Regions from separate parts of the Homo sapiens genome. Here region 1 is linked to region 2. The links are contacts of gene promoters, found by promoter capture Hi-C in human tissues and cell types (Jung and others, 2019). All regions are on one chromosome and are shown on one strand. Each heading gives the region's core, a stretch centred on a gene start or on the middle of the fragment in contact. The rest is flanking DNA. Distances are from core to core; before and after follow the strand shown.

The links. The method cuts DNA at HindIII sites, captures the fragments that hold promoters and counts their contacts. A contact is called where the count stands out against the background at its distance.
Region 1: a fragment that was not itself captured here is called in contact with the fragment with the promoter of ADAMTSL3 in region 2 in 1 of the 25 tissues and cell types used here (IMR-90 fibroblasts).

What each region holds. Positions count from the first base shown.
Region 1 is chr15:83,849,892-83,854,120 of GRCh38, forward strand. All of the region lies in intron 7 of ADAMTSL3 (ADAMTS like 3), which reads left to right. Among named protein-coding and RNA genes, the nearest start is that of ADAMTSL3, 200 kb to the left of the region's middle. The HindIII fragment of the contact is 8,624 bases long and covers 1-4,229 here.
Region 2 is chr15:83,651,979-83,656,608 of GRCh38, forward strand. ADAMTSL3 (ADAMTS like 3) reads left to right here and starts at 2,145. Exons shown (of 30, transcript NM_207517.3): 1 at 2,145-2,298; 2 at 3,751-3,852. The coding sequence starts at 3,784. RefSeq lists an enhancer at 614-783. The HindIII fragment of the contact is 6,298 bases long and covers 1-3,022 here.

The DNA.
Region 1 (4,229 bases), core at 1,589-4,088, 200 kb after region 2:
ATAAGATGAAATTGAAATCAGTAAAACTTCTGAGAGACTTTAATACATTGAAGTGAGTGAAAATTACATAAAGAATCTGTGCAATATAATTACTAATGTTACATTAATAGGTAACAGAACATTGCATGGTGAGGAAATATACCTTCTTTTCAAACATTTATGCACCATAATACAAAAACTGATTCTATGCAACGCTCCAAGGAAGATTAGAAAAAAAAAATCCAAGTAAAACAGAAACCATCAGAAGAGACCTCGCCCTGCAGCTGCACCCATCCATTCCCTGCTTCCTCCCGCTACGGAGGCACAAATGTCTGTCTTCCTTTCCAAGACTAATTAATCCCTCCATCTGTGTTCTGCATTCCAGCTCCTCTGTGTCCTCAGAGAACTCACTCCACCCATCATCCCCTCTCTTTCCTTTATCTTCTTTCACTGTCTCTTTCCTATCAGGGTTAATATGACCAGCGGGTCTCTTCCCATCTTAAATAAAAGTATAATTTTAAAAATGTCTATGTATATACATGTATATACATATGTGTGTATATACATATGTGTATATATATGTGTATGTTTATATATGTGTATGTATATGGGTGTATAATATTTATATATAAAAATATTTTTAAATTATATATATATATAGAACACTCTTTTAATCACGTCTCCAGCTACGACCCTAATTTTTCACCTACTCTTTATCGCCAAGTCTTGAAAAAACTGTTTACATTTGCTGTCTCTAATTTTTCATCATCAATGTATTCCTCAGATCACAGCTTCCTGTGCCAGCTACTTGATTGAAACTGCTTTGGCAAAGCACATTAACAGTCTCTTTACTGCTCATCCAAAAGGCACTTTTAAGCCCTCATCTGCAGAGCACTTGGTACTCCTGGCTCCTGCCTCCTTAAAATCCTCTGCCTCACAGGATTCTCACTTCATTTCTGGTCAGACCTAGAACTGGGCCGTCTCTTGCAGGACAGTGAAGAAATGCTGAAAAGTTTGTGACTGTGGACCAGTCCTCCCTTTCTGCCCTTTATGACTTGAGTTCTCCCTCTCTATATCCTGCGCCCGTGCTGCTCAAAATGTGGCTCACAGTCTAGCAGTATCAGCATCACCTGGGAGGCTGCTGCTGGTCGGGCACATTCTTGGGCTCCACCCTAAACTGCTGGATCTGAATTTCTATGGGTGGAGCAGGTGTCTGTGTTTTAACAAGTTTTCTAGATGATTCATATTTAGGTAAAATGTTTGGGAAGTACTGCCTTATCAGCGTATCACAGAGACTTCTACAAATGTATGAAACTTTAGTGGAGGGTTACAGAAATGAAAGGGAATTCCAGTTTAGGAGATGATCCTTATAGGCTGCTCCTTGTTCTTAGCTTTGCCTGGGTGCTCGGCAGTGTGCTTTCTCTCCAAGAGTTATATAGTAGGCAGCTCCACCCAGAAGAACATTTTCCTCAAGTTTGAGGCTTTTTGGCTAAAATCAACTGCAAGGGATTTGATTTGCAGGGTTTCATTAAAGTGTGTAATTATCAATGGGACAATGGTTGGAATATACACATATATGCACACACACCCCTAGACAAATGCTTCCCCAAGATACCACAGCCTACATTCACAAAGATTTTGCAAGAGAGCCCAACCAATATGCCCAAATAGGTTTTCTTCAGTTCAGTAAAGCTTTCTAATTTATATGTATTTTCAAAACAATTTTTATTACATATATAATATGCTGTATATGTGTTGTAAAAAAAATCCAGAATATCCAGGCAAGGAAATTGACAAACATGTCATGTATTCAATCACACTGCCAAGAGATTACATGTGTTATCATATTAGTGTGTATCCTTCCGGGGATGAGGTGAAGTGGTTGAGGATGCATAACATATATTGATAATTTATATTGTAAAATTAATACATACTTTTTATAAAACTTAAAAAGTTTTTTAAACTTACAAAAACTTCAAATGGCACAGAAGGATATAAAATGGAAAGTAAATGTCACCCTCTACCATCCACAAACTCCTAACCAGTTCCACTTTTTAGAGGTCTAAACAGGATGAATGGTTGCTTCTATTAAGATATTTCCTATGGATGTGTATGTGTGCACCTTTCCATACAAACATGTATGCTTTTGAGAAGTATACAGAATTGATCATTAGGTATAAACTTTTTTACAATTTCTTTTTATTCACTGAGGTTTTTTTGCCTATCAGTTCTCATAATTTGGCTTGTTTTTTTTGTTTTTGAGATGGAGTCTTGCTCTGTCGCCCAGGCTGGTGTTCAGTGGTATGGTCTCGGCTCACTATGACCCCCGCCTCCTGGGTTCAAGCAATTCTCATGCCTCAACCTCCTGAGTAGCTGGGATTGTAGGTGCCAGCCACCATGCCTGGATAATTTTTGTATTTTTTAGTAGAGACAGGGTTTCACCATGTTGGCCAGGCTGGTCTTGAACTCCTGACCTCAAGTGATCCACCCGCCTCAGCCTCTTAAAGTGCTGGGATTACAGGCGTGAGCCACTGCACCCAGTTGGCTTGTTTTTTAACTGGTGATATAAAAGGACATTACATAATTTATTTAACCAGACTCATATCAATGAGCATTTAGATTTTCTCTCAGTGTTACAACAACTTTGTACTTTTGTGCAAGCATGTCTTTATGTGCTTTTAGTTCTCAAAGATACTGTAATTTCTCTTCTCTCTTCATAATCTTCTTGACATTTTGATTTTTCTGTGAACTAGTTTTTCAAGTGTCTGATCAATTCTCCTGCTAATTTGTGTTTTTTTCTTACTGATTTGTAAACACTCTGGATATTAAGAAAACAGTCTTTGCCTATAATTATAATTTTTCCTTCTTTGACATTTAATTTTGCTTAATTTTTATTTCAAATGATTAATATTTTCCTTCGATTTTCTCAAGGCATTTTTTTATATCTTGAGAGAGAGAGATTTAAATGTTGTTTTTGTAGGTTGTGTCCATTTTTGGGGGGCTGGAAATGGAGTCTCACTCTGTCGCCCAGGCTGGAATGCAGTGGCGTGATCTTGGCTCACTGCAACCTCTGCCTCCTGGGTTCAAGTGATTCTCCAGCCTCAGCCTCCTGAGTAGCTGGGATTACAGGCACCCACCACGCCCAGCTAAATTTTGTGTTTTTTAGTAGAAATGGGGTTTCGCCATGTTGGCCAGGCTGGTCTTGAACTCCTGACCTCAGGTGATCCTCCCGCCTTAGCTTCCCAAAGTGCTAGGATTACAGGCATGAGCCACCATGCGCAGCCGGTTGTGCCCATTTTTTAAAAGTTCATTCCAACATATTCTATCTTTTCTCTAGCCATTGCAAATGGGGCATTTTCTTCCATTATTTTTCTAAATGATTATTCTTGGTATTTCTAAAATCTAATAATTTTTTAATATTAATTTCTTCTTGATTTCCAATGTTTAGACTATTTTTTTCTTGCCTAATTACCTTGGCTAATCTTTTAAAAACTCTTCAGTCATACGGTGCTGACTGGTATCCCATCATTTCCCCAATTAAACAGCAGTGTTTCTAATGTTTAAGCATTAAGCATATTAATCATGACTTGCATTTATAAATGGTGTTACAAACATTTACTTTATTTTATATACAGAATTTTTATCAGGAATAATGACTGAATTTTACTAAATGCTGGAAACTTATTTGAGGTAATCAAACTTTTCTACTTTGTCTATTAATATAGTAAATTACATTAGTAGGTTTCCTAAATTTGAGCAACACTAGCATTTGTTGGGTAAACTTCATTTGTATATAGTGCATAATTCAAATTTATGATTAAATTTTCTTTTCAAATATTTTACTTAGGAATTTGGTATCAAATAGATGTTAATGACATTGGAATGTAGTTTTATCTCCAAAATTGTACTGTGTAAAATTTTCAAGCATACATAAAAGTTGATAAAATAACACAATTCACTACTGTACATTTTTTCAACTAGATTCACTAATTACTTATATTTTGCTACATTGGTTCATTATCCCTATCACTCTATCTCTATCTATCTATCTATCTATCTATCTATCTATCTATCTATCTATCTATCTAATTCCTCCATCCAACTAGCTAGCTGACCCTTGTTAATTTACAGACATCACAACACTTACTTCTAAGTATTAATACTTTAGCATGACTCTTCTAAAAATAAGGATCTTCTTCATAACATCATCTCACTAGTACACCTAAAAAATTATAATTTCTAAATATTAT
Region 2 (4,630 bases), core at 895-3,394:
TAAAGTTTTTATTTTAACACCTCATAATCAATAGCTGCAGCACTTTCAAAGTCATTGAACCAGTGCTGAACGTTTTGAGTCTCTTGAGACACATGTTGGAAGCTAAGGTCCAACCAGTCAACCCTCTGTCTTCTTGTTTCAGCTTTCACACTGTAAATGAGTGGCCCAAAAGTTCTCTTCATTGCCATGTTTTCACATTTTTTTGGTCTTTTTTTTGATGATTTTGCTGCTTAAAGCACCCCCCAGGCACAGTGCTGAAGTGAAGTCTAGCGTTCCTAAGTGGAAGAAGGCTGGGATGTGTGTTGCAGAGAAAATACGTAAGTTAGATAAGCTTCATTCAGGCATGAGTTACAGCACTGTAGGCTGTGAGCTCAGTGTTCAGGAATCAACAATAGATGTTAAGTAAGGCGTCTTTAAACAGAAACATGCATAAAATAAGGCAATGTGTTGATTGATTGACAAAAATATTGTGAGCTTGCAGGAACCCAACTCTATATTTCCCCTAGGAACAATGGCTCCATATTCACAAATTCGTTGTTCTGTGACTTTATAGACCACAACTACAGTAAATAAAAAGGATCGATTGTCCATAGATGAGTTAGTTCTAGTTTAGCCCAGCCCTCCCTACCCTTCACTGGCTACTCTTACCTCTCCTGTCTCCACACTGACCTGTCCTCTGCTCACTTGCCACAAGTCCAATCATTTTACATAGAGTGGAGAGACAGCCTTGAAGATCCTCTTCTTGGTCAGAGGAAGTCACCAGAGTAAGTAAGGGAAGAATGAGTGAGGAAAGCAGGCAGGGCCAATTGCTCTTGGCAAAGCTCTAGCAGTAACCGGAACGCAGCAACCACAGAGAAGGCAGGAGAACAACTTTAGGGGTGAACAGTCCAGGCTCTAGAGAGAGGCAGATAGGGGTTCCAGTCCTGGCTTCTCCACTCATGGTGGGCAAGTTATCCTCCCAGCCTCAGATTTATCCTAGGTGAAATGGGATAATGCTCGAACTACTGCTGCTGTGAAGATCAGATAGACACAAAGAGCTTGGTACTCGACAGACACCCAAGGAAATGGCGACTGTGGTAGGACTTAGGTGGGGGCATAATGCAGCCTTTAAGATCAATCTCCTGGCCCTTGGCTTATCCTGCTGGGACTAGGACAAGGACAGGGACAAACATTTCCTTTTACTTCTCCTCACCTCCAGAAGTACACAGGCAACTCACCCCAGTCTCTTGTCCGCGACACTCTTCCCCCCAACCCCAAATCCCAGGCCTGGACACGGCATGATTCTGGCACCTGTGGAGCTCTCAGTTCCCCAAGCCCGGCTCAGACAAGGAGGCGCCAGGTACCCAGTTAAGAGGCGCTCCTGCAAGATCCTCGTGGTCCCTGGCTGCCAAAGGTCCCAGGCCTCTGGGCAGTGAGCGCTCCACAGTCCCTTGTGTGGCGTCTATGCTGCGCGGAGGAGGCGCAGGCCAGGAGAGGGCCATTGGTCTCCACTATGGTCCTGCCTGGCCAGGAGTGCCTATGGCTCTTAGGCACGAGCCAGCGGTTCCGGGCAAACCTCTGTGTGGCTGCTGGGCCTGACTTTGCAGAGCTGGCGCCCGGGTCTGGGCGGGGTGGGTGGAGGCTATGGGAGGTGGGGCCGGGGGTGGGCTCGGGGGGAGCGACGGCATCCCTGCTCCGGCTCCGGCTGAGGCGGGGCGGCCAGGCTGGCTTGCGGCGCAGCGGCCGCCTTTCCCCAGTGCGCCTGCCGGCGGCGGCGGTGGCGGCGTCGGCAATCCCGGCTCTTGGCACAACGCCTGGCGGCCGGCCCAGGGCGAGGAGTGGCTTCCAGGAAGCGGGCGGAGGAGCGTTCCAGCCGAGTCCCGCCGTCGCCGCGGCCCCGCGCGCTCCGAGCGGCCCGGGCCTGGCCCCACACGGCGTCTCTTCGCGCCCCCGGCGCCTCCAGCTCAAGCCGAGGGCGCGGTGCCGGCGCGCAGGCTGACGGGCGCCTGGGCGCGCCGTGCACTTGCCGGGCGGTGCAGGTGGCGGCGCGCGCCCTCCGCCTCTGGGCCGGGGCCAGCGCAGCGCTCTGCGCGCCCGGAGGGGGCGGGAGAGGCGGGGCAGCCCCCGTCCCAGCCCCATTTAACTTCGCGGCGGCGGCGGCGACTGCGGCGCCGCGGGCTGGAGGCCGGCGTCGGGGAAGGTCCTGGTGCCGGATTCCGCACGAGGTGTTGACGGGCGGCTTCTGCCAACTTCTCCCCAGCGCGCGCCGAGCCCGCGCGGCCCCGGGGCTGCACGTCCCAGATACTTCTGCGGCGCAAGGTGGGTGCACCGAGCTCGGCGCAGGGCGGCCCCTCAGGGGTCGGGGGAAGGCGCTCCCCAGAGGGAGTAAGACTTGGAGCAGTGGCCTCTCTAAGCAAGTTGGGGGTCTCCAAGCAGAGTCGGGGCGTGCCACGCGGGCCCCAGGGGGCCTCAGGACTGGGGTGCTCCTCACTGCTGGGCACCTCGGGTCGGGCGCGCTTCGTGCCGTCCCGGAAGGTTCAGGGAGAGTCTTTCGGCGGCAGTTCGCGGGCTGAGGGGCGTTCTTGATTATGGGGGAACTCCACAGGGTTGGAGTTTTTCAGGATTGGGAGTTACTAAGCAGAAACCTCGCGGGTCCGAAGGTCCGGCCGGTTGACCACTGGGTAGCGAGCGCCCAGAACGCCGGGGGTTGAGGCGACGCGCGATCGTGGAAAGTGGGCGTGGGGGTGACCGGGACGCGGCGGAGGCACTGGAGGAGCGACTTCGAGGCAGCGGGTAGTCGGAGGAGTGTGCACTCGGAAGGCTGGTGCGAGCAGGCGAGGGTGGCGCAGAGTCCCAGGGCCCCGCACTGGCCGCCTCCCTTCAGCCAGGAGTCGCCGCCTCAGGTCGGAAACAGCAGCACATTTGCGGATCACATTAGACCAGGCCCTTAATGCCTTCTCCAGATGGAGAGAAGCCACCGACCCGCCCCCGGACACCAGCTCCGCCAAGGCGCCCGCGAGGCGAAGCGGGAGTCGAGTGTGACCTCGGCTTTTCCAGTCTCGACTCATACTGATTTCCCTGTAAATTGACAGGAAAAGTAAGGGAAAAAGTCCCCGCTTCCCTCCTGGTTTCAGCTGACCTCTGCTGGCTGGCCCTCACCTACTTTTAGGAGATTGTGTTAGGCTGGCTCAGGGGCTGTGTCCTCCAAACCTCCCTGAACTTAGCTCTCAGGCGTCTCTCTGGGTGTGGGTCCCGGACCTCGAGGGCGCACGGTGTCATCTAGCGAGGAAAGCCTTGAACTATCAGAAGATCTGCGTTTCAGCCCTAAAATGTCACTATCTTGCTGTGTGACCTTAGGCAGGTCCTTTCCCTCTCTGGGCGGCTTTGTTGTCTTAGACTCATTTTTGCCGCGAGCAGCAGAAGCTAGCCTAAACCTTGGCTCTGTGCTGGCTTCCTGAGTCAAATGCCAATAGCGACACCCTGCTGCTGACAGATAGGCTTGGGCAGGGATATCTCAGCTTCTGAAGAGCTGGAGGTATGAGATGCCCACTGGAGACAGGTCCAGCCCTCGCCTGACTTTGTTGTGGACCTTCTAAAGGGAGCCCAGTTAGCCTGCACCCTGCAGTAGGCAGCGGCAACCTGGGCCAACACAAACCTTTCCAAAATAGTATATGGGCTTCAGGGTCCCTCCATCTAATGGGTCGCTTAAGTCACGGTTTACTGCCATGGGGGCCAGAGCTGGTTGGTAATGAACTCTTTCCTCGTTTGTAGGCTACAACTGAGACCCGGAGGAGACTAGACCCCATGGCTTCCTGGACGAGCCCCTGGTGGGTGCTGATAGGGATGGTCTTCATGCACTCTCCCCTCCCGCAGGTAAGGTCATATAGGGAGGGGAAGGGAAATGGTGGACATCCCTCTGTTTACTCAGAGGCATTATTGTATACCACCTAAGATGTGGCATGATTAGTGTTAATCCTACACCAGAGAACCAGACTTTCTTTCCTATCTCTAGCCAATGGTATTTCTGGTTGGCTTAGCTGTAAGGATTATCCAGATCCCTTGGGTCCTCTCTGAATCCTGAGTAGGGCTTTAATAGCACTGTGGATACCATACACCGGTGATGACCTGGGGCTGTGATGGACCCTGTCATTTCAGACTAGAATGGCTGTCTGCATGTGCCCAGCAGAGGCTGGGTTGCTGGAGACCAGGAAACAATGGGCAGAGCCAGGTTCTGGCCCTAGCTAAGCTGCTAAATAAATATTCTGAGTTTACATCTATCATCACATATCCCACTGTTTTATCCCACAGTCCTCTCTTTAGACTTCTGCTGTCTTTTCCAACCAACTTGAGAGGACCCGGCTCATGAATTGCATCTTTATTTGCCTAAAGGACAGACTCAAACAAAGGAATGAGGCTAGCATTGCCTAAGAGACAATAGAGAGTAACGGAGACAGTGGCAAAGTGCAGAACGCGTGCTCCATCTATTAAGAGCAGTCTCTACTCAATTCCATCTGATCGTTGCTAAGTGGAGACATAAGCCCAGGATTGCCAGATCTTATTTTTCAAGATAGCTGGATCATCTAGACTTCTTACAAAATTTCCCAGTTTTTAAAGTATTGAAAGGCAGATAAATGTGTTTGCAGCCTGGATT